4 separate regions of the Homo sapiens genome follow, and regions 1, 2 and 4 are each linked to region 3. Evidence: promoter capture Hi-C in human tissues and cell types (Jung and others, 2019). All regions are on one chromosome and are shown on one strand. Each heading gives the region's core, a stretch centred on a gene start or on the middle of the fragment in contact. The rest is flanking DNA. Distances are from core to core; before and after follow the strand shown.

Region 1 (6,291 bases), core at 3,673-6,172, 260 kb after region 3:
ACGAGGTGACACAATGCTGGCTGGAAGTGGAGAGACTCACAGCTGCTGTGTCTCTCTCTGGATTGTGAATTTGTCAGTTTCTTGGTGCAGCACTTACTCTTCTAGGCCATTCCTGCTGGGAGCCGCAGAGGTACAGCTGAACCTGGAGCGCACAGGTTTCACGGCAGCATCATTTCTAACGCTGCAAAGTTTAAATGACGAAAATGTCCCCTAATAAGAGAGTGAGTGGTTAAGTAAATGTGTATGCGACTTCTAAACATATCCACTCACTGGATATGTAATGGAGATTTCTAATAAGACAGGGAAATGTTACAATGCTATAATTTTTATTGAAAAACAGAACCCAAGATACAAAGGGAGTCAGATGACCTCCATTCAAATAGAGGCACTGCCAATCTCCAGTTCTGAGACTCCTGGGTCAGAGACAGGGACTTTATTAGTTGCAGTAAAATAATAGCTGCAGTTTAAGCATGGTGTTCACATGAGTTCCTTGTGTCTTCCAAGTCCTAGGGTCGGTGTGGAGTGGGCGAGGTCAAGGGCCCATCATGGATGGTGGATGCCTGCACACACAATGGGCTGCATTACACAGGAGAACACTGAGTTTGGGGAATTTACCGATTTTCCGGTAAACTTGTCCAGAGGGAGATGGTACCTCCTCCTTTGAGGTTGCTTTTTGCAAACACGACCCTGAGACACGGGTACAGAGTGACCAGGGCTTTGCATTTGTGGCATACTCAGCAAGAATGTGCAGGAATGCCCGTGCCCATGATGGGTTCTTCTCCCAGCACCTGGGTGTGGCTCACCTGGACTGCAAGAATCTCAGGCCTATGATCTTCCAGTGGGCCTCTGGAAGCTGGATGTGCTGAGAACTAGAGAAGGGGGCCGAGAGTCAGCCTGGGTTTTGGGGTCTGAAGCATGCTTAGAAGCATCCTGGTCCATCTCCTGCATTTTGCAGATAGGGAAACTGAGGCCCAGAAAGGGACTTGCCCAGAGCCAGACAGTGAATGAGGAGGGGGTCAGGACTGGTGCTCCCCTGTGTGGTCCTGAAGGCACATCACTGTCACCACCAGCACAGCAGCTGACAGTGATTACATTACAGAGTTTTCTCTGTGGGGCTTATGTGATGAGAGTCAGCATCTCCTTCAATTCTCACGACCGTGCAAAGTGCAAAGTCCTAATCCTTGCCCCACGTGACAGATGAGGAAACAAGGTACCAAGAAGTCAAATGCTCAATGCCACAGAGCCAGAGAGTAGCGAGCTTGGATTGGAACCCAGGTGGTCTGGCCTCAGACCCTGTCCCAGGCTGTCAGGACCTCTAGCTTGTCCTGGGGGATAGGGGTCCATGGTGGTGCCTACTTCCCTGACACCCAGTGCCTGGCTTTCCAAGTCACCAGCCACAGGGACAAGAGGATGTGGAGAGGCCATGGAGGACAGGCCTGGGATGAGGACTAGAGTGAGTGCCTAAAAAGGGGGCGCCTTGGCTGGGCGCCACGGCTCACGCCTGTAATCCTAGCACTTTGGGAGGCTGAGGCAGGCGGATCACAAGGTCAGGAGTTCGAGACCAGTTTGACCAACACAGTGAAACCCCGTCTCTACTAAAAATACAAAAAATTAGCTGGGTTTGATGGTGTGTGCCTGTAATCCCAGCTACCCCCGAGCCTGAGGCAGGACAATTGCGTGAACCCGGCAGACAGAGGTTGCAGTGAGCCAAGATCGTGGCATTGCACTCCAGCCTGGGTGACAGTGTGAGACTTGCCTCAAAAAAAAAAAAAAAAAAAAAAAATGGTGGGGGCTGTGCCTCAGAACAGGAGTAAGCTCTTGAAGCTTCAGGAAAGGCTGGGAGAGGCCAGGTTTCCATGTCCTCTCTCCTGGCTCTGGCCTCCCTCCCCAGCTGTTGCAGGCTTGGCTCAGCCCTCCTCCTCCCAGCAGTCCCTCTGCCTGCCTAGGGCAGTGTCAGTGCCTAGCTGAATGTAGGAGTCACCTCCTCCTACTGTCCCTGTTTCCTCATCCCCACCCCCTTCTCAGCCACCCACAACACAGCCACTCCCTCCCCATCCCCAGAAAGGGCCCCGGTCACATCGCCAGCGGCCACCTGCTCCATCCCCATTGGGACTTCTCAGTCCTGGCTTCACTGAGCACTGGGCCACACTGGGCAGTCCCAGCCAGAATCACTTTTTTTTTGCTATCACCCAGGCTGGAGTGCAGTGGTACAATCTTGGCTCACTGCAACCTCCGCCTTCAGGGTTCAAGCAACTCTCCTGCCTCAGTCTCCCAAGTAGCTGGGACTACAGGCATGCACCACGATGCCCAGCTAATTTTTGTATTTTTAGTGGAGATGGGGTTTCATCATATTGGCCAGGTTGGTCTCGAACCCCTGACCTCAAGTGATCCACCCACCTCGGCCTCCCATAGTGTTGGGATTACAGGCATGAGCCACCACGCCCTGCCCAGAATCACTTTTTGATTCCTTCTTGGATATTGCCTTCTCCTGGTTTCCTTCTACCCCTCTGCCTGTTTCTACGTCTTCTTTCTGAATCCCCCAGGTCCCCTGGTTCCCCCTTCGCCCTCCACCACCTTCCCTTAGTCATCTAGACTCCTTCCAGGGCACCCCATTCTCCGATGGCTTAAACGAATTAAGTTAATACCAAAGTAGTAATGAGTTCCCAACCTGTTCCAACTCAGAAATGCCTCCCTCGGGCCATCTGCTGATGTGCTGTTTCCGCACCCCACCCCATCCAAAGTCAAAACGGACCAGGATCTCTGGTGCCTCCAAACTTTTGCAGAGACATCAGGAAAGCTGGCACCACCAAGGAAACCCTTCCCACCTCTGCTCACCTTTCACTGGCCAGTCGCATGTCACCTCTTCCTGAGGGGCCTCCTTAACCTCAGAGGCGTGAGCATGCTGGTCCCCTTGGTAAGCTTTCCTGGGCTCTCTGCAAACTTCAAACTTATAAGACACCCTGTGGGGAGATGAGTTCTTGTCCTTTTGTTTTTCATTTTAAAATTTAACATGTGACCGGGCACGGTGACTCACGCCTGTAATCTCAGCACTTTGGGAGGACAAGGCGGGTGGATCACCTGATGTCGGGAGTTCAAGACCAGCCTGACCAACACGGAGAAACCCCGTCTCTACTAAAAATACAAAATTTGCCAGGCGTGGTGGTGCATGCCTGTAGTCCCAGCTACTCAGGAGGCTGAGGCAGGAGAATCGCTTGAACCCGGGAGGTGGAGGTTGCAGTGGGCTGAGATTGCGCCACTGCACTCCAGCCTGGGCAACAAAAGCAAAACACCATCTCAAAAAAACAGAAAGAAACAACATGTATTCAGAAAAGGGCACGTACCATAAATGAACAGCTCAATAAATTCTCACAAACTGAGCCCAACCTTGTAACCAATACCCAGAGTAAGAAAGCTGAACCTAACCAGCCCCCGAAAGCCCAGCACGCTCCCACTCCAGGATCACCACTCTCCTGACCTCTGAACTGTTCTTGCCTTTTTTTTTTTTTTTTTTTTTTTTTGAGACGGAGTCTCACTCCGCCGCCCAGGCTGGAGTGCAGTGGTGAGATCTCGGCTCACTGCAACCTCCGTCTCCCGGGTTCAGGCGATTCTCCTGCCTCAGCCTCCCGAGTAGCTGGGACTACAGGTGTGCACCACCATGCCTGGCTAATTTATTTTTATTTTTATTTTTAGTAGAGACAGGGTTTCACCATGTTGGCCAGGCTGGTTTCGAACTCCTGACCTCAGGCAATCCGCCCACTTCATCCTCCCAAAGTGCTGGGATTACAGGTGTGAGCCACCGCCACCGGCCTGTTCTTGCCTTTTATGTAAATGGAATCATGCAGCGAGTGTTCCTTTGTGGCTGACTCTATTACTCTGACTTACGTCTGTGAGATTTACCCGTTATGTGAGTTGCGGATCATTCACTCCTGTTCCGTTTGTCGTGCTCCTAAGCCCGAATACTCCACGATATTCATCTGCCTTGATGACGCTAGGCTTCCCAATTGGAGGAATTATGAATGTGCGGCTACATGTCTTTCTGTCTTTTGGAGCACATGTTGTATGCGTTTCTGCTGAGTGTAAGGCTGGGCGGGGCGTCGGTGGCTCAAGGGGTCCATGGTGAACTCACAGGAACACCGCTTTGAGCTGCCCAGTGGCGTTCCTATGCGTCTCATCCAGTTCCTCCGCATCTTCACCTGCACCATTTTATTCTTCTTCTTTGGAAAATAAATCTACTTGTGGTTCCAAAGCCTAACTCATCCTCAGTAACCCCGGTAGCTATGAATTCCTATACAAGAGGCTCCCGCAGGCCCAGCGCCAAAGCTGCCTCCCCTGCAGCCTCGGTGACTTCCCGGGTCTCTCCCTCCGGCCCTGGTGTCCCGGGTGAGCCCAGCACACGTTGGGATTTTGGTTGTTTGTTGGCCTGGCCCGACTGTCCCTGTCTCTGAGGGCAGAGTCGGGTCCCATCCCGGGACACGCCTGGGGTTAGCCACCGACCTGCAGCCTCCCGGCCGAGGGTGCGGGGTTGGCGGTAAGGCCTGCCCCAGTGCCCCCCAGCAGCCGGGCCTCCGACTGCAGGCCCGGGTCCCCGCTCCTCCGCGCGGAGTCGGGCGGGGATAACCTTTGATCCCGAGCCCTCCCCTCGAGAGGGGGTGGGGGGAGGAGGGGATCGGGTTTCACGGAGTGTTGGGGGATAGGACTGGGGGCATCCGGCCCGAAGGCGCCCCCTCTGTGCCCCCTCCGGGGAAGTCTGGGATCCAGGCCCTCGCCCCCAGCCGTGGGCGCGCGCCCCTCGCAGCCGGGGTCCGGGGAGGGAGGGTCCCGGCAGGGGGCGCCGGGGAGGGAGGACCAGGAGACCCGCGGCCCCGCCTCCGCCGCGCCCTCCTCCCGGGCGGGATAATTGAACGGCGCGGCCCTGGCCCAGCGTTGGCTGCCGAGGCTCGGCCGGAGCGTGGAGCCCGCGCCGCTGCCCCAGGACCGCGCCCGCGCCTTTGTCCGCCGCCGCCCACCGCCCGTCGCCCGCCGCCCATGGAGCGCGCCGCGCCGTCGCGCCGGGTCCCGCTTCCGCTGCTGCTGCTCGGCGGCCTTGCGCTGCTGGCGGCCGGAGGTAGGGGCGTCCCGGGTCCGCCGCCCCAGCTTAGGGTCCCGACCCCCTCGGCCTCGCGCTCCCTGCGAGTTTCGGAACCACGGGGACTCGGAGTCCGTGCGTTGCCCTGCGCGGCGCCCCCGGACTGTCAGCGCCGAGGCCTCGGCGACGCCCCCCTCCCCCACGGCCAGCTCCGGTCCTCATCTCCTCCCCGGCCTGGGGACTTGTTTCAAAACCGGATTCCCCCACCCCTCAAACACACCGTCCTACCCCAGTCCTAGCAAATCCAGCCGGCTCCGGGGGCCGCATCCCGGGCCCTGGGGGTTCAGGGGCGCTAGCTGGGCTGGGGGACGCTGGCTGGGGGTTACCGAGCCCAGGGCGCCTTGCACTTGACGCTGGAAGCGCCCTCGGCTATCTTTCCTCACCGCTTCCCGCCTCCACCCCCAGGTAGGAGCTGTTGTACCCAGCTTGCGGATGTGAAACTTGAGCCTGGAGGGTGGGAAGCAGTCTTTTCCCCAGGAGACACTAGCGGTCCTGGGATAGGGGCTGGAGAGGAAGAAATGAGAAAGCCAGGGAGCAGCCTGGAGGTTTTTGGGGCGTAGCTGGGAGGATGGAGGGGATGCGGACCTGGCCACCTCCTCCCTGCCTCCCTCCCGGGACAGAGGGCCCAAGGCAGTGGTTCTGCCGGGCTCGGTGCTCAGCGGGGACTGGGGACTGGTCACTTCCACCAACGGCAAGGGGGATGGAGTTTTCCAAGAGCAGATCTGATCGATGGCCCAGACCTTAGGCCCCAACTCTGGGACTGACAGCTCCGGGACAGTGCCCACCCAGCCCGCGCTTTTCTCCCCTCTAACCCTCAAGGCCTGGTCCCTGGGGGGACTGCCACGAGGTCCTCTGATCAGAGCAGCTGCTGGGCGGCAGAGCTATGACCTGTGACCTCTCTGCTGACCCGTGGCTTCTCAGAGCCACTAGCCAGGCCCGGCACTCCTGGCGTCTTTGTTTCTCCAGTGGCCCAGGTCCAGGGGAGTGCCCTAGACCACCCTCAGAATCCGAGTCTTAATCCCTGGTTTAGTTGAGTTCCTTTTAACCTCTGGTGACCGCCTTTGTTAGTCAAAAGGTCGCTTGTCCCAACTAATGCTCACTGGGGGATTCCAGGAAGGGGGCTGAAGGGGGCTGGAGGGGGAGGGGAGGCTGGGAGCTGAGCTCTA
Region 2 (6,559 bases), core at 3,786-6,285, 280 kb before region 3:
TTTACAACAATTAGCTCTTCTGGAAAAAGTTGTTTCGGTTTTTTCCCTGATCCTTTGCATGAAAAACCCTCTGAAGGTACAAAGCAAATTCCTGAACTGACTGTAGAAGGAGTGAGAGAGACCTGGGCTGCCGCACAGGGCTGGCATGCGGGCCCCTCACAGCCTTCCTCTGGGGCTTGCCACTGTCCGTCCTCATGCTGCCTCCAGAGGGAGTTCTCAAATCCATTTTATGTGTATTTAAATAACGTATGCACAGAATCAATAGTCAGCCCTCTCTTTCTTCTACCGCTGCTTTTTTTCTCCTGCCTTGAGTTCCCATTTGTTTGGCGTTCTGGGTTCCTCCTGCTAATTTTTCCTAAGTTCCCTGATAGAATTATAAAACCCTTTCCTGTGCAAACACACCAGGCATCAGTTCCCTGTTGCTAACCTAAATAGGTTTCTCTCCAGGCTGCTGGGGCCCCCTCTCCTGAATTTAGATCTGCTGTTTTTCTGGGCTTAATTCCTTTATTTCAGTAGAATGCCTCACCCAGTATCTTTCTGAGAAAGGCGACGCATGAAATAAGCATTCTAAACCCGTTCAGGCCTTGTGTGTCTAAAAGCAGAACTCTAGCTGGACCTGATCACCACTGGACATTTTTTTTTTTTTTTTGAGATGGAGTTTCGCTCTTGTTGCCCAGGCTGGAGTGCAATGGCGCGATCTCGGCTCACCACAACCTCCACCTCCCAGGTTCAAGCGATTCTCCTGCCTCTGCCTCCCGAGTAGCTAGGATTACAGGCATGTGCTATCATGCCTGGCTAACTTTTTGTATTTTTAATAGAGACGGGGTTTCTCCATTTGGTCAGGCTGGTCTCGAACTCCCGACCTCAGGTGATCTGCCCACCTTGGCCTCCCAAAGTGCTGGGATTACAGGTGTGAGCCACCACGACAGCCCCCATCCCTGGGCATTTTGAGTGCACGACTCTGCTGGCTTCTGGCATCCGGGCCTGCTGCCTCCCTGACTCTCTCCCTACACAGTGAGGGTCTAGTCGGGGTCTGCTGAAACCCTGTGCTCTGGAATTTCATGGTGTGCACTGCAGTGTGGACCTTTTCCTGTTAGTTGTGCTGAGAACTCCGAGAGCTTTCTCAACCCGGAGGCCTGTGTCCTTCGATTAGGAATGTGCACATTGCATCCATATGGTTCTCTCTGCCAATACCCCTGTTTTATCTGAAACTCCTTAGTTAGAGATTTTCCAATTTTCTCAACTTCTCTCACCTAGTCCCATTCCATTAGCGTCCTATTCTACTCTTTGAGAGATCTCCTCAGCTTCATCTTCCAGCCTTCCTTTGATTTTTTTTTTTTTTTTTTTTTTTTTGAGATGGAGTCTTACTCTGTCACCCATGCTGGAGTGCAGTGGCATGATCTTGGCTCACAGCAACCTCCGCCTCCTGGGTTCAAGTGACTCTCCTGCCTCAGCCTCTTGAGTAGCTGGAATTACAGGCGCCTGCCACCACACCTGGCTAATTTTTTATTTTTATTTTTGTATTTTGTAGAGACAGGGTTTTTGTATTTTGTAGAGACGGGGTTTCACCATGTTGGCTAGGCTGGTCTTGAACTCCTGACCTCTGGTGATCTGCCCACCTTGGCCTCCCAAAGTGCTGGGGTTACAGGTGTGAGCCACCGCACCCGGCCCCTCCTTTGATCATTTAACTGCGCAATCTACATTTCCAATGTCTCCTGCTGGTTCCATGGCCGGCCCCGCTGGAGCGCCTGTTCTGATTCAGATGGTATACTGCCTGATTTCTCGGAGGATGAGACAGTTTTGGAAGCCTTCTTCTGCTTCCTGCATGGCCTCCTCTCCCTCTCAGATCCGGTTTCTGTTTTGGTCTCTTCCTTGTTGGAAGCTCCCCTGGCATGTCCTGAGACTGCTGATGATCTGCTCCCATCTCAGGACGAGGCTCGCATGCCTTCTGGAGGGCCTGGTGTGTTGGTGATGCTGAATAACAAATGTCTTCTAGAGAATGATGACATTTTGCCCCGACCCATCTTCTCATACTCTCCACTTTGTGATTCACGCCTTAACTACGGGACTTATCACATTTCTGGGCCTCTTTGTGCCTTGCTCTTGTGTGGGCCTTTGCTCCTGCTGTCTGTCCCCTGCCTGGGTCCTTCCTCCTCCTTTCTAACTGGTCCAAGTGGACAGTAGACACCAGTTCTAGCCAAGTGCTCTCTCAAGGCCCCAAGAAAAGTGTTTGTGCTCAGCAGGTTTCATTCACACCTGGCTGCCCCGGCTCTGACCTGGAGACCAGTCTGTCTCTGCTCCTACCACGGAGAGGAAGCCAGTGATGGGGAAGACTGGCAGGTCATTCAAGATGCACCCAGGTGGTCCCGGTGCTGCAGAGGATGTCTGAGCTGGGCACAGCAGAAGCATCAATGAGAGGGAGCCAGTGCTACCCACGGGAAAAGTCTTCATGGAGGAGCTGATCACTGAAAACAGTAAAGAGATGACCACCAGGGGAACAGGAGGGAAGATATCCCAGGAGATGAAATGGCTTCAGTTGAGACCAGAGTTATGAAAGAAGCCCAGGAGTTCAGGAGATGCAAGCACAGGACCCAACCAGAGCAACAGCAAGGGCAGGGGCTGAGCCAAACGTGAGGCAGCAAAAGTAAGCCTGGCCAGCTTGTGAGAAGTCAGGGCAGCGCCTCCAGGAAGCGCTCTGAGCAGGGCCAGTCTCCACCCCAGAGAGCGGGCCCTCCGCTGTGTGACCTCAGCACCGGACGTGTCTCTAGTCCTGCAACCCTCTCTAATGGCTGAAACCTGAGCATTCCTCACTGCACACGAAATGCTTCACACAAGGCCTGGCACCCAGTAGATGCTAAGTAAACATCCGCCTGAAAAGACAACCATCCCAGGAAACCCCTGGACGCTGAGGCCTCCACAAGCCACGGGACCCAAGGCTGGATCCATTTTTCCATTTCCTGCTGATCTTCAGTTGTCTTGGCTCTGCAGAGACGCCCCCTTCCCTCCACAGCTACCTGAGTTCGGTGTCAGATGACATCAAGACAATTATCTCTTTTTTCCTTCACTGCCCGAAAAATGAGAAAATTCTGGGTCGACACTGCAGTCCGGCAGCACCAGGCAAAGCCCCCCACTCCTGTCCCTCAACGACTATGGTCACCTGCTCCCCAGGTCGTCGCCCAACCCTCCACTGGCTGGAAGTCACTGCTGTCTGCACCCATATTAAGGGGCCATGGGTGACCTGGGCTGCTGGTTCTTCCCATGTCTGTCTTCCCCAAGAGCTGTGTGATAGTCACTGTGTCAACTGGACTGGACCATGGGGTACACAGACATCTGGGCAAGCATTACTTTGGTGTGTCTGTGAGGATGTTTCTGGATGAGACTCACATCTGAATTAGTGGCCTGAGTAAAGCAGGTGGCCCTCACCAGTGAATGAGGGTCTCATCCAACCAGCCGGAGGCCTGAACAGAGCAAACTGTCTCAGTAAGAGAAGTCCTGCTGTCTGCCTGCACTCAGCCTGGACACCAGGGTTTTCTTGCCTTTGGACGCAAACTGATGCATCAGCCTTTCTCAGGTCTCCAGCCTCCTTTTGGACTGGAACTTACAGCATCGACTCTTCAGGGTCTCCAGCTTGCCCACTGCAGATCCTGGGACTTGAGGATCTGTCCCTTCAAAATCACGTGAGTTGATTTTTTTTTTTTTTTTTTGAGAAGGAGTCTCATTCTGTCACCCAGGCTGGAGTGCAGTGGCGCGATCTCGGCTCACTGCAACTTCTGACTCCCTGGTTCAAGCGATTCTCATGCCTCAGCCTCCCGAGTAGCTGGGATTACAGGTACGCGCCACCACACCCGGCTCATTTTTGTATTTTTAGTAGAGATGGGGTTTCACCAGGTTGGCCAGGATGGTCTCAATCTCTTGACCTCGTGATCCACCTGCCTCAGCCTCCCAAAGTGCTGGGATTACAGGCATGAGCCACCGTGCCCAGACTGATTTTTTATACAATTTCAACTTTTATTTTAGATTCAGGGGGTACAGGTGCAGGTTACATAGGTATACTTCGTGATGCTCAGATATGGGGTACAACTGATCCTGTCACCCAGGTAGTGAGCACAGTACCCAACAGGTTTTCAACCCTCGCTCCCCTCCTTCCCTCTCTGCTCTAGGAGTCCCTAGTATCCACTGTTGCCGTCTTTATGTCCCTGTGAATCTAATGTTTAGCTCTTACTTCCAAGTGAAAACGTGGTAATTGGTTTTCTGTTCCTGCTCTATTTGCTTAGGATAATGGCCTACAGGCTGGGCGTGGTGGCTCATGCCTATAATACGAGCACTTTGGGAGGCCTACGTGGGCAGAGCACCTGAGGTCAGGAGTTCAAGACCAGCCTGGTCAACATGGTGAAACCCAGTCTCTACTAAAAATATGAAAATAAGCCAGGCGTGGTGGTGCACCCCTGTAATCCCAGCTATTCGAGAGGCAGAGACAGGAAAATCGCTTGAACCAGCATGGCAGAGGTTGCAGTGAGCCGAGGTTGCGCGCACCACTGCAATCCAGCCTGGGTGACAGAGCGAGACTCTGTCTCAAAATAAATAAATAAATAAATAAATAAATAAATAAATAAATAAATAAATAAGTATAATGACCTCCAGCTGCATTCATGTTGTTGCAAAGGGCATTATTTTATTTTTTTTATGGCTGTGTAGTATTCCATGGTGTATATGTACCACATTTTCTTTATTCAATCCACTACTGATGGGCAGTTAGGTTGTTTCCATGTCTTTGCTATTGTGAGTAATGCTGAGATGTACACACAAGTGCATGTGTCTTTTGGGTAGAATGATGTATTTTCTTTCCAATATATACCCAGTTAATGGGATTGCTGGGTCGAATGATAGCTCTGTTTTAAGTTCTTTGAGAAATCTCCAAACTGCCTTCCATGGTGGCTGAACTAATTTACATTCCCACCAAGAGTGTATAAGCATTCCCTTTTCTCTGCAGCCTCACATAACTTTTTAATGATCTGTAGATGTGCCTCAACTTACGATGAAGTTACATCCCAATAAAGTCACTGTAAGTTGAAAATATCCTAAGTTGAAAATACATTTAACACACCTGGCCTGCTGAACATCATAGCCTAGCCCAGCCTAACTTAGTGTGCTCAGAACACCTAACATTGGCACGGCTGATGGGAGCTGCAGCTCACAGCTGCTACCTAGCATTGCAAGTGAGTATCACATGGAATAGTGCTAGCCTGGGAAAAGATCAAAATTCGAAGTATGTTTTCTACTGAACGTGTATTGCTTTTGCACCATGATAGAGTCACAAAAGCGTAGTAAGTGAAACCATCATCAGTCAGGGACCATCTGTACACCACACATCCTACTGGCTGTATTTCTCTGGGGAACTCTGACAAATACAAGCTGGGTCCCATATAACCCAGCGTCTTGCTCAGAGGGAACACCAGGTACTATATGGACACATGCCTGGATGAAGAGCTGCCTGCAGGTGCCTCACGGAACGGTGGGGGATGGAGGCTGGGGCAGGGTGGGGGCGTGCTTTACTTGCGATGTGGCCAGAAGACTCAGCCCCGATGCATTTAGAGGCCCTACAAGAACACCTCATAGCACCAGGAATAGAGCCACGCAGTACAGTTTTCTCTTCCAAGCACCATGATGATAAAACAAATCATGACTCGTTCTACCTTTGCATTACTTCATGGTTTGCAAGGTACTGGCTCATCCGGTTCTTTCAACAACCCTGGGCAGACATTGCCATCTGGAAATGAGGAAGCTGAGCTCTCTGGGGGCACAGGGGCTGCCCCCCAGATCCCTCCTCGTAACAGAATCAAGATCTCAGCTTCTCACAAGGACACTCTGCAGCTGTGACATGGACTCCCTGCTCTCCCTTCTGGGAACAGAGGGGAAACCTCATGGTAGGCCTGGCCTGGCAGCCACGCTCACATCACTGCAGCAGCCCCGAGGGCAAGACAGCACACTGGTGACGGAGGGCGACCCGCCACGCTCACACCACTGCAGCGGCCCCGAGCGCAAGACAGCACACTGGTTAGGGAGGATGACCCACCATGCTGAACTGTGTTTTGAGGGTACTGAGGGTGGATCAGCCCTCACTGTTAAGGATTTTGTTTTTTTACCTAGAAATAAAGTGACTTCTATGAAGCCCTCACTTCTATCAAGCAGGGTCTGAGAGCCCTAAGATGACGTGACCCATGGTTTCTCCAATCCTTTCTCAGCAACCCTCGTCATGGTCATCATCATCCCCAGCAAGAAGTGGGGCTGAAGGACGAAAGAAGAGAACGGATAAGAAGATGCTTTGTAAACAGCAAGGCAGCCTCCAGGCACTCACCGCAGACTTTGTTTTAACTCAGAGAACCCGAGGCCTTCCCTGGCTGTACGCTCCCAGGGGCCATGTGGGGCTGAGTCCCATGCCAGGCCCAGCACCTGAACTCAGCCCACAGCAGAGTCAGGTGACATCTGAAGGACAAACACCACCAAAGTTCGGAGAAGCAGGCCCACCCCACACCTCTGCTCAAAGCTTCTCTCTCCATGT
Region 3 (6,535 bases), core at 1-2,500:
GGGGGATGCACTTGTTCTCTGGGACTCAGTTTCCCCAACGGTGAATGAAGGGGTGAATCTGGAAGGCTGACATTCCGTACTCAGCAATGCTGTCACCCCCTCAGAAATCCCCAGCCTAGCCTGGGGGTGGGGTGGGGGGTGGCTGACAATGTGGTATGAAGTCATTCCCTGCACGGAGGAGGGAGGGGTCTTTTCCATGGAGAAAATGACGAACCTGAGACGACAAAAGAGGGGGCTTCTCCTGGGCTTCAGTCTGGGCATGATCCATCAGTAATGGATTACCTCACTGGCTGGGAGACCCCACCCACACCTGCAGTCCCAGGCCCTTCCAAACAATACGAGGCACCCCCATCCCACGCCCCCCAGCAGATCCATGACTTAAAGCCCAGAATCACACCGAGAGGCAGCAGGCCCTGCCCCTCAGCCAAGCGGGCGGGTTCGGGGGGCCATTGCCCAACAGGTCCCTGGATACAGCTAAGGGATGAGAGGGGCCGGTGGGTGCGGAAAGACAAAGGCTTCGGGTAGCAGGAGACAGTGGCCAGGGCACGCTCGCAGCGAGGTCCACCCAGAGCCCAACGAGGGCCCGACCCTGCCGCGCTGGGCTAAGGGTGTACCCAGATCCCACGCCCACACTCCCTACCGCGGTGCTGAGGGCCCGGGGCGGGCTTCCTGGAGAAGGAAGAAGACCCGCAGAGACACGAAGAAGAAGGAGGAAGATGAGACAGACACCCGGACGGACTGACAGGGGGAGACGCCGAATGAGACCCGGGCACAGGGGTGCGGGGCGCTCGTCGGACGGAAAGCAGAGACAGACCCAGATGCAGGGACGGTGGGGGGGGGGCCATGGAGGAAGACAGGGTACCCAGGCAGACCCAGAGACCACGACACCCGCGCAGAGACAGAGATGCGCGGGGCGCACAGAAACACGGACGCGCAGAGGCGGCCCCGGAGACGCTCACCTCTCCCGGCCCGGCCTCGCCCCCGGGTCCCACTCACCGAGGCCGCAGACCTCGCGGCGCAGGCTAAGACGGCCGCGCTCCTCCGCTATGGCACGCAGCATGTGCTGCAGCGAGCGCTCCTCGGCCTCGGCGCCGCCCGCAGGCTCGGGGGCGGCGGCGGCGGGGAGGGCGGGCGGCCCGGCCCGCAGCCCGCCGCGAGCACCAAGGAAGCCACAGTCCGCCTCTGTGCGCGTCGCCGTCGCCGCCGCCGCCGCCACCACCCGCCAAACACAGCACCGGCGAGCGCACCTCCGCGCCGCCGCCGCCCGCGCGCCCCCGGCTCCGCTCGCCCCGCCCCGGCCCGGCCCGGCCCCGGTCCGGCCCCGCCCCTTCCCCGCCCCGGCCCCGCCCCTGTCCCCTCCCGCCCCGCCTCTGAACGGCCCGGACCCACCCCGGCTCCCTGGCCCCGCCCCCTGACCTCCCTTGCCCCGCCCACTTCCAAACGGCCAGTCTCCGCCAATCTTCGGATGCCCAGGACAGCCTCCCTCAAACCGCTCGCGGGGTCCCGCCTCCACCCAAGGTCCTAAACGCCCCACCAACGGGATCACGCCTCTGAGCCCCTCCCGCCGCCCCTTCAGGGCACCTCTCCCCTCCCCCGCTGCTACCCCACGGGATGTGTACTTTGTCACCCGCCCTGTGCGTTGCCACCTCCACCAAGTCCCCTCGGCTGACTTCTGGGAACTTCCTCCGCAGAACCCCTCAAGAGGTCACCTGCTCCCAGAAGGTGGTCTCCTGGGGGACACCGTGGCAAAGCCCTTCCGGCCCCCCTCCTCTGCACCTGGCACAGTGCAGAGTGTTGCGCCTCCATTTCCTCAGCTGCACCATGGGGGACCTTTCCCTGCCTTGCCTCCCCAACATGGGGGAGTGTTGATGAAGGGGGAGGTATGAGGTTAGCTGGGCGTGTCATCCTGATGAAGCCAGGTCTGGCCAGCATCCCTCCGTGTGCTAGTTGTGGCTGATACAGGAAGACACCGGAGAAGCAGCCAGTGGCCTCCCCAAACCTCACGCCTGGTGGTCCATTTCCAAGAACAGGGGGAGATGGAGAGACCAGCATTGATTTCCAGGTCTCTCCAAAGCTAAATCTACATCACTCCCTGCATTCACAGCCTGTGTGTGGACCCCAGACCCATCAAGGTCCCCCTTTCCCCTGTCTGGAGTCCTCTTCTCCCCATTCCTGTGTAACTTGCTTCCTTTGTGTCCCGAGTGTCACATCCTCAAAGAAACTCCCCTGACCGCCTTCCCTCCCTCTCTCTTCCCTTAGTCTGTTTCTCCTTCACAGGGTGACACTTACCTCCTCCCGACACATTGGATACCTATGGGTTCACTTGTTCTCTTCTCTACCGAGGGAGGGGCCTGTCTACTACACAGCTGTTGTCTCAGTACCCAGAACATTGCCTGGCACACATTAGATGCCCAATAAATAGATATGGGCTGCAGGCTGGGCACAGTGGCTCATGCCTGTAATCCCAACACTTTGGGAGGCCGAGGTAGGTGGATTGCCTGAGGTTAGGAGTTCCAGAACAGCCTGGCTAAAATGGTGAAACCCCATCTCTACTAAAAATACAAAAATTAGCCGGGCATGGTAGCACACATTTGTAATCCCAGCTACTCTGGAGGCTGAGGCAGGAGAATTGCTTGAACCTGGGAGGCGGAGGCTGCAGTGAGCCGAGATCCCGCCACTGCACTCCAAGCTGGGAGACAGAGCAAGACCCTGTCCCCCCCCAAAAAAAAAGAAAAGAAAAGAAAAAAAAATGTAGGCTGCATAAACGAAGAATGATGGAGAGGTCTGATGGGGACGCAGGGGTCTTCCTGGGAGGCACAGCAGGAAGGAGCCGTGGGGTTGGGCAGAGCCCCAGAAGGGAGATGGGATCTGGATCCTGCTTCAGGCCTCTGCCCCAGTTTTGTGCCACTGGCCCCTGAACTCTTCAGAGCAGAGCCACATCTGACCCCTCTGTGTCCCCAGTGCCAGGCCCAGGAGGGCTCTGTAGAAAGGTGAGCAGTGAGGGAATGAAGGAAGTGCGCGACCAGCCTCACGTGTATTTCTCTTCTCCAGTGGGCCTGCATCCCTGTCTGTAAAGTGAGGACACTGGCATGAGGGCTGAGGCCTCTGGTTCTGCGTCTGGAGAGCTGGGGTTTGGGCTGGTGGACGTGAGAACTGGGGATGGTGGATCAGACAGCATGAGCGAGTGCTCCAAGGCTGTCAAGTCCAATAGTCACATCCCTCTTTGCCTCCCCAAACCCCACAGCACCCCCTGCCTGTTCCCACTGCCATGCGTTTGCCCACAGTGTTCCCTTGGCCTGAAATCCTTTCTGCTCCGCAACTGTAGTTGCCTTTGGGACCCACATTGCCTGGTTACGCTTGGCCAATGCATTGTGTTCTTATTTGCTTCACAAACCCCCTTTCCCCACCCCACCCTCCTGCACACAGTTGCCTCCGTGTATTCTGTGTCATATGACCAGCATTGAACCAATTCATCCCACTTCCCGTGGCACCCAGCCCAGGACTGGTGCCAGAAAAATATCTGTTGAATGAATGAGTAAACAAACATCGCTTGGGCTCTCTCCTTTGTATTTCAATAATACTCCAGGTATTACCTATACACAGAATTTTCTTTCTTTCTTTTTTTTTTTTTTTTTTTTTGAGGCGGAGTTTTGCTCTTGTTGCCCAGGCTGGAGTACAATGTCGCGATCTCGCCTCACCGCAACCTCCACCTCCCAGGTTCAAGCAATTCTCTTGCCTCAGCCTCCCAAGTAGCTGGGATTACAGGCATGTGCCACCACGCCCGGCTAATTTCATGGAGATGGGGTTTCTCCATGTTGGTCAGGCTGGTCTCGAACTCCTGACCTCACATATACACAGAATTTTCTAATGTCAACAAATGCTAAATCACACTGTGCATGGGAAGAGGGCAGGAGCAGGACTTCTGGGGCTACAGAGCATGTTCTGTTTCTTGATCTGGGGGCTGGTTACACGGGTGTGGTCAGTTTATGAAAATTAAAAGGCTGCACAGCTGGGCATGGTGGCTCACGCCTGTAATCCCAGCACTTTGGGGGGCCAAGGCGGGCAGATCACCTGAGGTCGGGAGTTCGAGACCAGCCTGGCCAACCTGGCGAAACCCCATCTCTACTAAAAATACAAAAATTAGCTGGGCGTAATGGCACACACCTGTAGTCCCAGCTATTCTGGAGGCTGACGCAGGAGAATCGCTCGAACCTGGGAGGCAGAGGTTGCAGTGAGCCGAGATTGTGCCACTACACTCCAACCTGGGCAACAGAGCGAGACTCCATCTCAAAAAAAAAAAAAAGTTAGAAAATCAAAAGGCTGTGTGCTGTGGTTCAAACCTGTAACCACAGCACTTTGGGAGGCCAAGGCAGGCAGGAGGCTGGCTTAGGCCCAGGAGTTTGAGACCAGCCTGGCCAACATAGCAAGACCTCATCTTTACAAAAAAAAAAAAATTAGCCAGGTGTGATGACACACGTCTGTGGTCACAGCTACTCAGGAGGCTGAGGTGGGAGGATTGCTTGAGGCGGGGAAGTCAAGGCTGCAGTGAGCCGCGATCACACTGCTGCACTCCAGCCTAGGCAACAGAGTGAGACCTGGTCTCAAAAAAAAAATATATATATATGTATATATAACATATATATATGTAATATATATAATATATATGTTATATATGTAATATATGTATGTAATATATATATAAAGCTGGCATTTTGTAATTATTTATGCACTTTTCTGTATACAAATATTCAGAATATAAAATAGAATTGAAAGTATATAGGCAGAATAATGGCCCCAAAATGCCCACACCCTAATTCCTGTGCTAATTCCTGTGAATATGTTGCCTTACCTGGCAAAATGGACTTTGCTGACGTGATTTTTTGTTTGTTTGTTTTCGAGACAGGGTCTCACTCAGTTGCCCAGGCTGGAGTGCAGTGGCACGATCTTAGCTCACTGCAACCTCCACCTCCCCAGCTCAATCCATCCTCCCACCTCAACCTCCTGAGTAGCTGGGACTAAGGGTGTGTGCCACCACACCCGGCTATTTTTTGTATTTTTTGGTAGAGACAGGGTTTCACCATGTTGGCCAGGCTGGTCTCGAACTCCCGACCTCAAGTGATCTGCCCACCTCGGGCTCCCAAAGTGCCGGGATTACAGGCATGAGCTGCCACATGGGGCCTAAGAGTACAGACACTGAGATAGGGAGACTATCCTGGGTTATCCAAGTGGGCCCAATCTCATCACATAAATTCTTAAAATCGGGGAACATTTCCTGGCTGTGGTCAAAAAGAGATGTGACAACACAAGAATGGTCAGGTAAATGCAATGTTGCTGGCACTGAAGAGGGAGGAAGGGGCCACAAGACAAGGCATACAGGCAGCTTCCGGAAGCTGGAAGAGGCAAGGAAACAGATTCTCCTACAGTTGCCCCCAGATATGACACAGCCCTGCCTGCACCTTGACTTTAGCTCAGCAAGACCTCAGTTGAACTTCTAACCTACAGAACTGGAAATGTGTTAAGGCAATAACGTTGTAGTAATTATTACAGCAGTGATACCAATACGTGGGCAAGCCTGAGATGTGGGCATTGTGTCAGCTCTCCACCTAAGCGCTTCTATCCCTGAGGTTTATTTTGCAAACACTTAGAACAACAATCAAGCAAAGTTTAGCAGAAAGAAAAAACAACCACAATCCAATTGCTTTAATAGGTCAGTCTTGCTTCATTTTTCAGAGTTCCTGCCCGGGGTTTGCCTAATGCCATCCCTCTACACTATTGTAACAGCGGTGTCCGACAGCACACATTTTTATCTCCAAATGCTTGGGGCTGATCTTATTCAAAGAGCCAGACAGTGTTTTTTTGTTGTTTTGTTTGTTTGTTTGTTTGTTTTTTTGAGACTGAGTTTCACTCTGTGGCCCAGGCTGGAGTGCAGTGGCGCGATCTCGGCTCACTGCAAGCTCCGCCTCCCGGGTTCACGCCATTCTCCTGTCTCAGCCTCCTGAGTAGCTGGGACTACAGGCGCCCGCCACCACGCCCGGCTAATTTTTTGTATTTTTAGTAGAGACAGGGTTTCACTGTGTTAGCCAGGATGGTCTCGATCTCCTGACCTCGTGATCCGCCCGCCTCTGCCTCCCAAAGTGCTGGGATTACAGGTGTGAGCCACTGCGCCCAGCCACCAGACAGTGTTAAGAACAAAAACTTTTTTTTTTTTTGAGACAGAGTCTTGCTCTGTCACCCAGGCTGGAGTACAGTGATGCAATCTCAGCTCACTGCAACCTCCGCCTCCCAGGTTCAAGCAATTCCCCTGCCTTAGCCTCCTGAGTAGCTGGGATTACAGGCGCCTGCCACAATGTGGGGCTAATTTTTGTATTTTTAGTAGAGATGGGGTTTCACCACGTTGGCCAGGCTGGTCTTGAACTCCTAGCCTCAAGTGATACACCTGCCTCGGTCTCGCAAAGTGCTGGGATTACAAGTGTGAGCCATCGTGCCCAGCCACAAAAGCTTCTTTAGAACTCCCCCGCCGTGTTTTAAGTGACTG
Region 4 (6,497 bases), core at 3,359-5,858, 390 kb before region 3:
TTGTGGGCCAGGCATGGTGGCTCACACCTGTAATCCCAGCACTTTGAGAGGCTGAGTTGGGTGGATCACTTGTCATAGGAGTTCAAGACCAGCCTGGTCAACATGGCAAAACCCTGTCTCTACTAAAATACAAAAATTAGCCAAGCGTGGTGGTGCACGCCTGTAATCCCAGCTACTCAGGAGGCTGAGGCAGGAGAATGACTTGAACCCAGGAGGCAGAGGTTGTAGTGAGCCAGGATCGTGCCATTGCACTGCAGCCTAGGTGACAGAACAAGACTCCATCTCAAAAAAAAAAAAAAAAAAAGCTTGCAATTATGAATCCTTTATCTGTCCTTTGAGATGAAAATCATCTACCACCCAGAGCTATGTCAAGGACCTGAGAGCCATCTCTTTGAAATGAAAACATTCAAAGTGCTACCTCTGCCTCCCAGTCCCCGGGGAGGGAAGGACCCAGCTCTGGCTTGCACCACTGCCTCCGGTCATAAAGATACCAGACATTTGTCCACTTCCGGATAGGCACCAATTAACAAACCTGGAGAGCGTAGTCATATTAAGCAACCCTCTGTTGGGAAGGAAAAAATCCTTTCCTGCTACCCGTCTTAGGTTCATTGGTGGGAACCCTGTAACTTGTTATTCTGACAAAAGACAGATTCACACGAGAAAAGCATGCCAGTTTATTTAATGTAAGTTTTACATGACACAGGAGCCTTTTAAATATTTATTTATTTATTTATTTATTTATTTAATTTTTGAGACAGTGTCTCGCTCTGTCGCCCAGGCTGGAGTGCCGTGGCATAATCTCGGCACACTGCAACCTCCACCTGACATGGGAACCTTTATGAAAATGAAGAAAATGAAGACCCAGGCTGGGCATGGTGGCTCATGCCTGTAATCCCAGCACTTTGGGAGGCCAAGGCAGAAAGATCACTTGAGTCCAAGAGTTTGAGTCCAAGAGTTTGAGTCCAGCCTGGGAAACATAGTGAGACCCCATCTCTACAAAAGATTTTAAAAATTGGCTGGGCTTGGTAGTGTATGCCTGTAGTCCCAGCTGCTCAGGAGGCTGAGGTGGGAGATCACCTGAGCCTGGGAGTTGGAGGCTACAGTGAGCCATGATCACACCACTGTACTCCAGCCTGGACAAAAGAGCAAGACCATGTCCCCAAAACAGAAGGAATGATGGAGGGAGGGAGGGAGGAAAGCAAGCAAGAAAGAAAAGAAATAAAGAAAATGGGCCGGGTGCAGTGGCTCACTCCTGTAAACTCAGCACTTCGGGAAGCCAAGGTGGGTGGATCACCTGAGGTCAGGAGTTTGAGATCAGCCTGGCCAACATGGTGAAACCCCGTCTCCACTAAAAATACAAAAATTAGCTGGGCGTGGTGGTGGACACCTGTAATCCTAGCTACTCAGGAGGCTGAGGCACGAGAACTGCTTTGAACCCAGGAGGCAGAGGTTGTAGTGAGCCGAGATCGCACTGCTGCACTCCAGCCTGGGCGACAGAGTGAGACTTTGTCAAAAAAAAAAAAAAAAAAAAAAAAAAAAGGAAGGGAGGAAGGAAGGTGAAGGAAGGTGAAGACATGGTTCAGCCCGAATGTTTTGATACTAGGTTTGGTGAAGAGTGGAAAGTCATGGAGCTTCAATTCCTTTTGTCATTCCGCCGTCTTTAGAGATAAGGCACCCTCTGGACATAGGGAAGACCCCCTCCCATTAGAAGGTTTTATGATCTGCTACACAGAAGTAGGGGGAGTCAGAGAGAGCCCTTCCCACACCTGCCTTTCTTAGATTCCTTCAGCTCAATAACATATTCAGCATGCCCAGGCTCCATATTTGGGACAGTAGTGTTCCGGACCCCAGCATTCCCCCATCTGGAACTTTCCCCAGGAAGTTTTACAGTCCAGAAACTGAGTTGGTAGATTGTCTCATGTTGCATGAATCCTTCTCTCAGTGCTGTGACTAGGTCACTCCAGGGAAAGAGTTGTGTCTCAATTCAGGAGGTAGCGGTGGAGGTGGGAGTAGGGTGACTACCTAAGTCAGCCTGTTAATAAGGGGCCTTTCTTTGTCAACAAACATGAAGTTCAGTGGTTTGAACAAACCATAAGTTCCGGGGATTTTTTTTATTTTGTTTTTTGTTTGTTTGTTTTGTTTTTGAGGTGAAGTCTCACTCTCACTCAGGCTGGAGTGCAGTGGCACGATCTCGGCTCAGTGCAACCTCCACCTCCCAGGTTCAAGCCTTTCTCCTGCCCCAGCCTGCCGAGTAGCTGGGACGACAGGCCCGTGTCACCACGCCTGGCTAATTTTTTGTATTTTTAGTAGAGACAGCATTTCACTGTGTCAGCCAGGATGGTCTCAATCTCCTGACCTTGTGATCCGCCCACCTCAGCCTCCCAAAGTGCTGGGATTACAGGCATGAGCCACCGTGTCCGGCCTAAACTCCATTTTTTTAGTCAGGAGAACATTTAGTTGAGAAGATTCCTAGATGTTGGCTTGAAGTATCCTTTCATGGTAGAGAGAGAGTGGCAGCAGCTGGCCAGTGAATTCCATAGTTTGCAATTTAGATGTCTTTGGTGATGGCACTGGGTGTTCCGGTGAACTTTCTGAGCAGACTGAGTAGGAGGCACAAGGACTATCCGTACATCATCTGCTGTGATTTCTCTGAAGTTTATATCAAGTCTTCCAGCGTCAGCTTTTGGGGCTTTGGGGAAATGGCAGGTTTTAGTTCTTTGTCATGCCAACTCAGGGGGTAGGAGAAAACTGGAAATGTTAGCTTGGAGCGTCGTAGCCAGATATTGGAGGAAAGGAGAGGAACTGAGAACCCGCAAGCGTGCGCCGTAGTTTTCCACGGGAGCATCATTTCTCTGTACCGTTGCTTCTCTCTTGATTCTCAGTTACAAAATAAGTCTGGTTTCATTAGAATTTGGCCTGATTATTTACATAAGGGCAGCAAGAATGGGAATTGACCTATGTCGGCTCTTTTTAAGTCTACCTTGCTAGAACTTTTAATAAGGAATCTCAGATTCACTTTTTAAAAGCCTCTTGAGGCTAGAAAGCCAAGTTAAAAATTTGCCATCAGGGCCAGCTGCGGTGGTTCACGCCTGTAATCCTAGCACTTTGGGAGACCAAGGCGGGTGGATCACCTGAGGTTGGGAGTTTGAGACCAGTCTGACCAACATGGAGAAATCCCATCTCTACTAAAAATACAGAATTAGCCAGGCATGGTGGCATGCACCTGTAATCCCAGCTACTCGGGAGGCTGAGGCAGGAGGATCGCTTGAACCCGGGAGGCAGAGGTTGCAGTGAGCTGAGATCTCACCATTGCACTCCAGCCTGGGACACAGCGAGACTCTGTCTCAAAAAAAAAAAAAAAAAAAAAAAAAAAAAAAAAAAAAACCATCAGACTTTGCCTGCAGTATCTGTAGATTTGAGAGAATTCCTCTCTTCTCAAGGTTCTCAATATATTTTAAGTTTCCTGGGCCTGCCAGGAAGCGGCCTTGCTTACTCACTGTAACGTCATACATAACACTGAATAAGGCTAGTTGTCATTTCAAGGAATTCCCCTTGTATCTTTTTTTTTTTTTTTTTGAGACGGAGTCTTGCTTTGTTGCCCAGGTTGGAGTGCAGTGGCCTGATCTTGGCTCATTACAACTTCTGCCTCCTGGGCTCAAGTGATCCATCTGCCTCAGCCTCCGGAGTAGCTGGGATTACAGGTGTGCGCCGCCACACCCAGCTAATTGTATTTTTAGTAGAGACGGGCTTCACCATGTTGCCCAGGCTAGTCTTGAACTCCTGACCTCAAATGATCCACCCACCTCAACCTCCTAAAGTGCTGGGATTATAGGCATGAGCCACCATGCCAGGCCCTTGTTATGCATTTTTAACCCTACTTCACTAGTAAGCCCAACTACATAAAGATGTATGCTTGGATTATACTTAATATGGGTAACTCAGAAGATGCAGCTGGTTTTTTTGTTTTGTTTTTGTGTTGAGATGGAGTCTCGCTCTGTTGCCCAGGCTGGAGTGCAATGGCACCATCTCAGCTCACTGCAACCTCTGGCTCCTGGGTTCAAGCAATTCTCCCACCTCAGCCTCCCGAGTAGCTGGGATTACAGGCACCGGCCATCTTGCCTGGCTGATTTTTGTATTGTTGTAGAGACGGGGTTTCACCATGTTGCCATGTTGGCCAGGCTTGTCTTGAGCTCCTGACCTCAGGTGATCTGCCCGCCTTGGCCTCCCGAAGTGCTGGGATTACAGGCGTGAGCCACCGTGCCCAACCTATACAGCTGTTTTTAATAAACTAACAATATCAGACTAATCTTGTCAGAGTTACTCAAGTCACAAGAACTTGAAAAGAATGTTTGGCTTAGTTTCTATATTTCTGAGAGCTTTAGAAATGTTTTATATAAATGCTCATGTATCTCTAAGCCAATTTGAATAGAACTCCTTTAAGGGATTTTATAAATTAACTTGGTAATACCATCAGAGGGAGAATAATTTCACGTATACATAACATACATGCGTAGACATAACATAGATCTGCAAAGAAAAAAAGAATTTTTTTTTAAGACAGGGTCTCCTTCTCCTTGACCTCTGGGCTCAAGCAATCCTCCCACCTCAGCCTCCCAAGTAGCTGAGGCATGCACTACCACACCCAGCTAATTTTTAAATATTTTTTTGTAAAGACAGGGTCTCACCATGTTGCCCAGGCTGGTTTCAAACTCCTGGGCTCAAGTGATCTCCCCACCTCAGCCTCCCAAAGTGCTGGGATGACAGGCATGAGCCACTATGCCTGGCCACAAACCAAGATCTTATAACTTTCATACATAGTTTCATACAAGTTAAGATTACCTGTTGAGGGTGAAAGTTGTTATCAGTATTTCAGGAGAAGGCCCTAAAGATTTTTTTCTTTGGCCAGTTTGTTTCCAAATAGTCCTTTTAACCTTGTTTTTTGTTTTGTTTTGTTTTGTTGTTTTTAACCAAAGGTGTACCTAATCCAATGTAACTCGAAACCCATAAGACTTTTTGTGGCCATGGATACAAGAGATGTTCTCAGAGTCCCCCAGGATCCAAAGTTACCCCACAGATAGCCAAAAGAAAGACAAGCGCCCTCAGAGCTGGTGATGGCTGGTAGGATGTCAGCTGTCGCCGAGTCTGTGTTGCTATGAAGAAATACCTGAGGCTGGGTAATTTATAAAGAAGTTTAATTGGCTCATGTTTCTGTAGGCTTTATAGGAAGCACGGTGTTGGCATCTGCTTGGCTTCCAGGGAGGCCTCAGGAAGCTTTCAATTATGACGGAGGGCAAAGGAGGAGCAGGTGTCTCACGCAGTGCGAGTGGGAGCAAGATGGGGTGAGGTCATGCCACACACTTAACCAGATCTCTTGAGAAATCACTCACTCTCATGAGAACAGCACCAAAGAGATGGTGCTAACCATTTATGAGAAATCTGTCCCCATGATTTAATCACCCGTCACCCATCCCCACCTCCCACATTGGGGATTACATTTCAATGTGAGGTTTACAGGCAACATCATCCAACATATCAGAGTGCAGCTCACATTACTGTCTGGCCAGCTATAAATTCCCTTTTTTTTTTTTTTTTTTTTTTTTTTTTTTTTTTTGAGACAAAGTCTCACTCTGTTGCCCAGGCCAGAGTGCAGTGGCTGAGATTCTCTACTCACTACAACCTCTGCCTCCCGGGTTCAAGTGATTGTCCTGCCTCAGGCTCCCAAGTATCTGGGATTACAGGCACCCGCCACCACGCCTGGCTAATTTTTGTATTTTTAGTAGAGACGGGGTTTCACCGTGTTGGCCAGGCTGGTCTTGAACTCCTGATCTCAGGTGATCCATCCGTCTCGGCCTTCCAAAGTGCTGGGATTAAAGGCGTGAGCCACCGCGCCCGGCCTGTAAATTCTTGGGGCTACATCCTGACCATTGGCTGTTCCCCCAGGCATTTGGAAGCCAAACTGGCCATAAAGGCAAGTTCTCAGGACACAAAACAAGACGAAAGGAGAATCGTATCCCATGATTCTCCTCTTCACAACAAAGGACCCAAGAGACAGAGACAAAGGCAAACAGTGACTCTTCCTGGGAGGCTGAAGATCACCGAGGACTCCTCGAGATCAGATGCGCTGAAGTCAAAACCAAAGAACCCATTCTTCCGAATGTGGCTCTGCTGGTCCAAATTCAGAAAGGAAGAAAACAAAGAGACTTTGACCACCCTCACACAGTCGCGCTGCAGACAGAAATCTGGGAGGCTGACTTGAGTAAGAATTCTTTTTTTTTTTTTGAGACGGAGTTTTGCTCTTGTCGCAAAGGCTGGAGTGCAATGGTGCAATCTCGGCTCACTGCAACCTCTGCCTCCCGGGTTCAAATGACTCTGTTGCCTCAGCCTCCCAAGTAGCTGGGATTACAGGTGCCCACCACCACACCCGGCTAATTTTGTATTTTTAGTAGAGATGGGGTTTCTGCATGTTGGTCAGGCTGGTCTCAAACTCCTGACCTCAG

Evidence for each region. The method cuts DNA at HindIII sites, captures the fragments that hold promoters and counts their contacts. A contact is called where the count stands out against the background at its distance.
Region 1: the fragment with the promoter of FBLN1 here is called in contact with the fragment with the promoter of KIAA0930 in region 3 in 1 of the 25 tissues and cell types used here (neural progenitor cells).
Region 2: a contact is called between a fragment that was not itself captured here and the fragment with the promoter of KIAA0930 in region 3, in 1 of the 25 tissues and cell types used here (H1 embryonic stem cells).
Region 4: a fragment that was not itself captured here is called in contact with the fragment with the promoter of KIAA0930 in region 3 in 1 of the 25 tissues and cell types used here (H1 embryonic stem cells).

What each region holds. Positions count from the first base shown.
Region 1 is chr22:45,497,961-45,504,251 of GRCh38, forward strand. FBLN1 (fibulin 1) reads left to right here and starts at 4,923. Exons shown (of 17, transcript NM_006486.3): 1 at 4,923-5,104. The coding sequence starts at 5,026. It overlaps LOC105373066 (a long non-coding RNA gene), which reads right to left and starts at 3,027. Exons shown (of 3, transcript XR_938305.2): 1 at 2,836-3,027; 2 at 804-869; 3 at 310-560. RefSeq lists enhancers at 1,298-1,934, 5,537-6,150, 6,151-6,291. The HindIII fragment of the contact is 10,534 bases long and covers 2,372-6,291 here.
Region 2 is chr22:44,957,271-44,963,829 of GRCh38, forward strand. The region is part of intron 2 of PHF21B (PHD finger protein 21B); the gene reads right to left. Among named protein-coding and RNA genes, the nearest start is that of PHF21B, 49 kb to the right of the region's middle. RefSeq lists enhancers at 2,717-3,300, 6,072-6,559. The HindIII fragment of the contact is 9,378 bases long and covers 347-6,559 here.
Region 3 is chr22:45,239,644-45,246,178 of GRCh38, forward strand. KIAA0930 reads right to left here and starts at 1,251. Exons shown (of 10, transcript NM_001009880.2): 1 at 997-1,251. The coding sequence starts at 1,060. RefSeq lists silencers at 825-914, 1,065-1,124, 1,285-1,344, 1,375-1,574. The HindIII fragment of the contact is 11,413 bases long and covers 1-6,535 here.
Region 4 is chr22:44,850,679-44,857,175 of GRCh38, forward strand. The region is part of intron 13 of PRR5-ARHGAP8 (PRR5-ARHGAP8 readthrough); the gene reads left to right. The region is part of intron 10 of ARHGAP8 (Rho GTPase activating protein 8); the gene reads left to right. Among named protein-coding and RNA genes, the nearest start is that of ARHGAP8, 100 kb to the left of the region's middle. The HindIII fragment of the contact is 9,411 bases long and covers 1-6,497 here.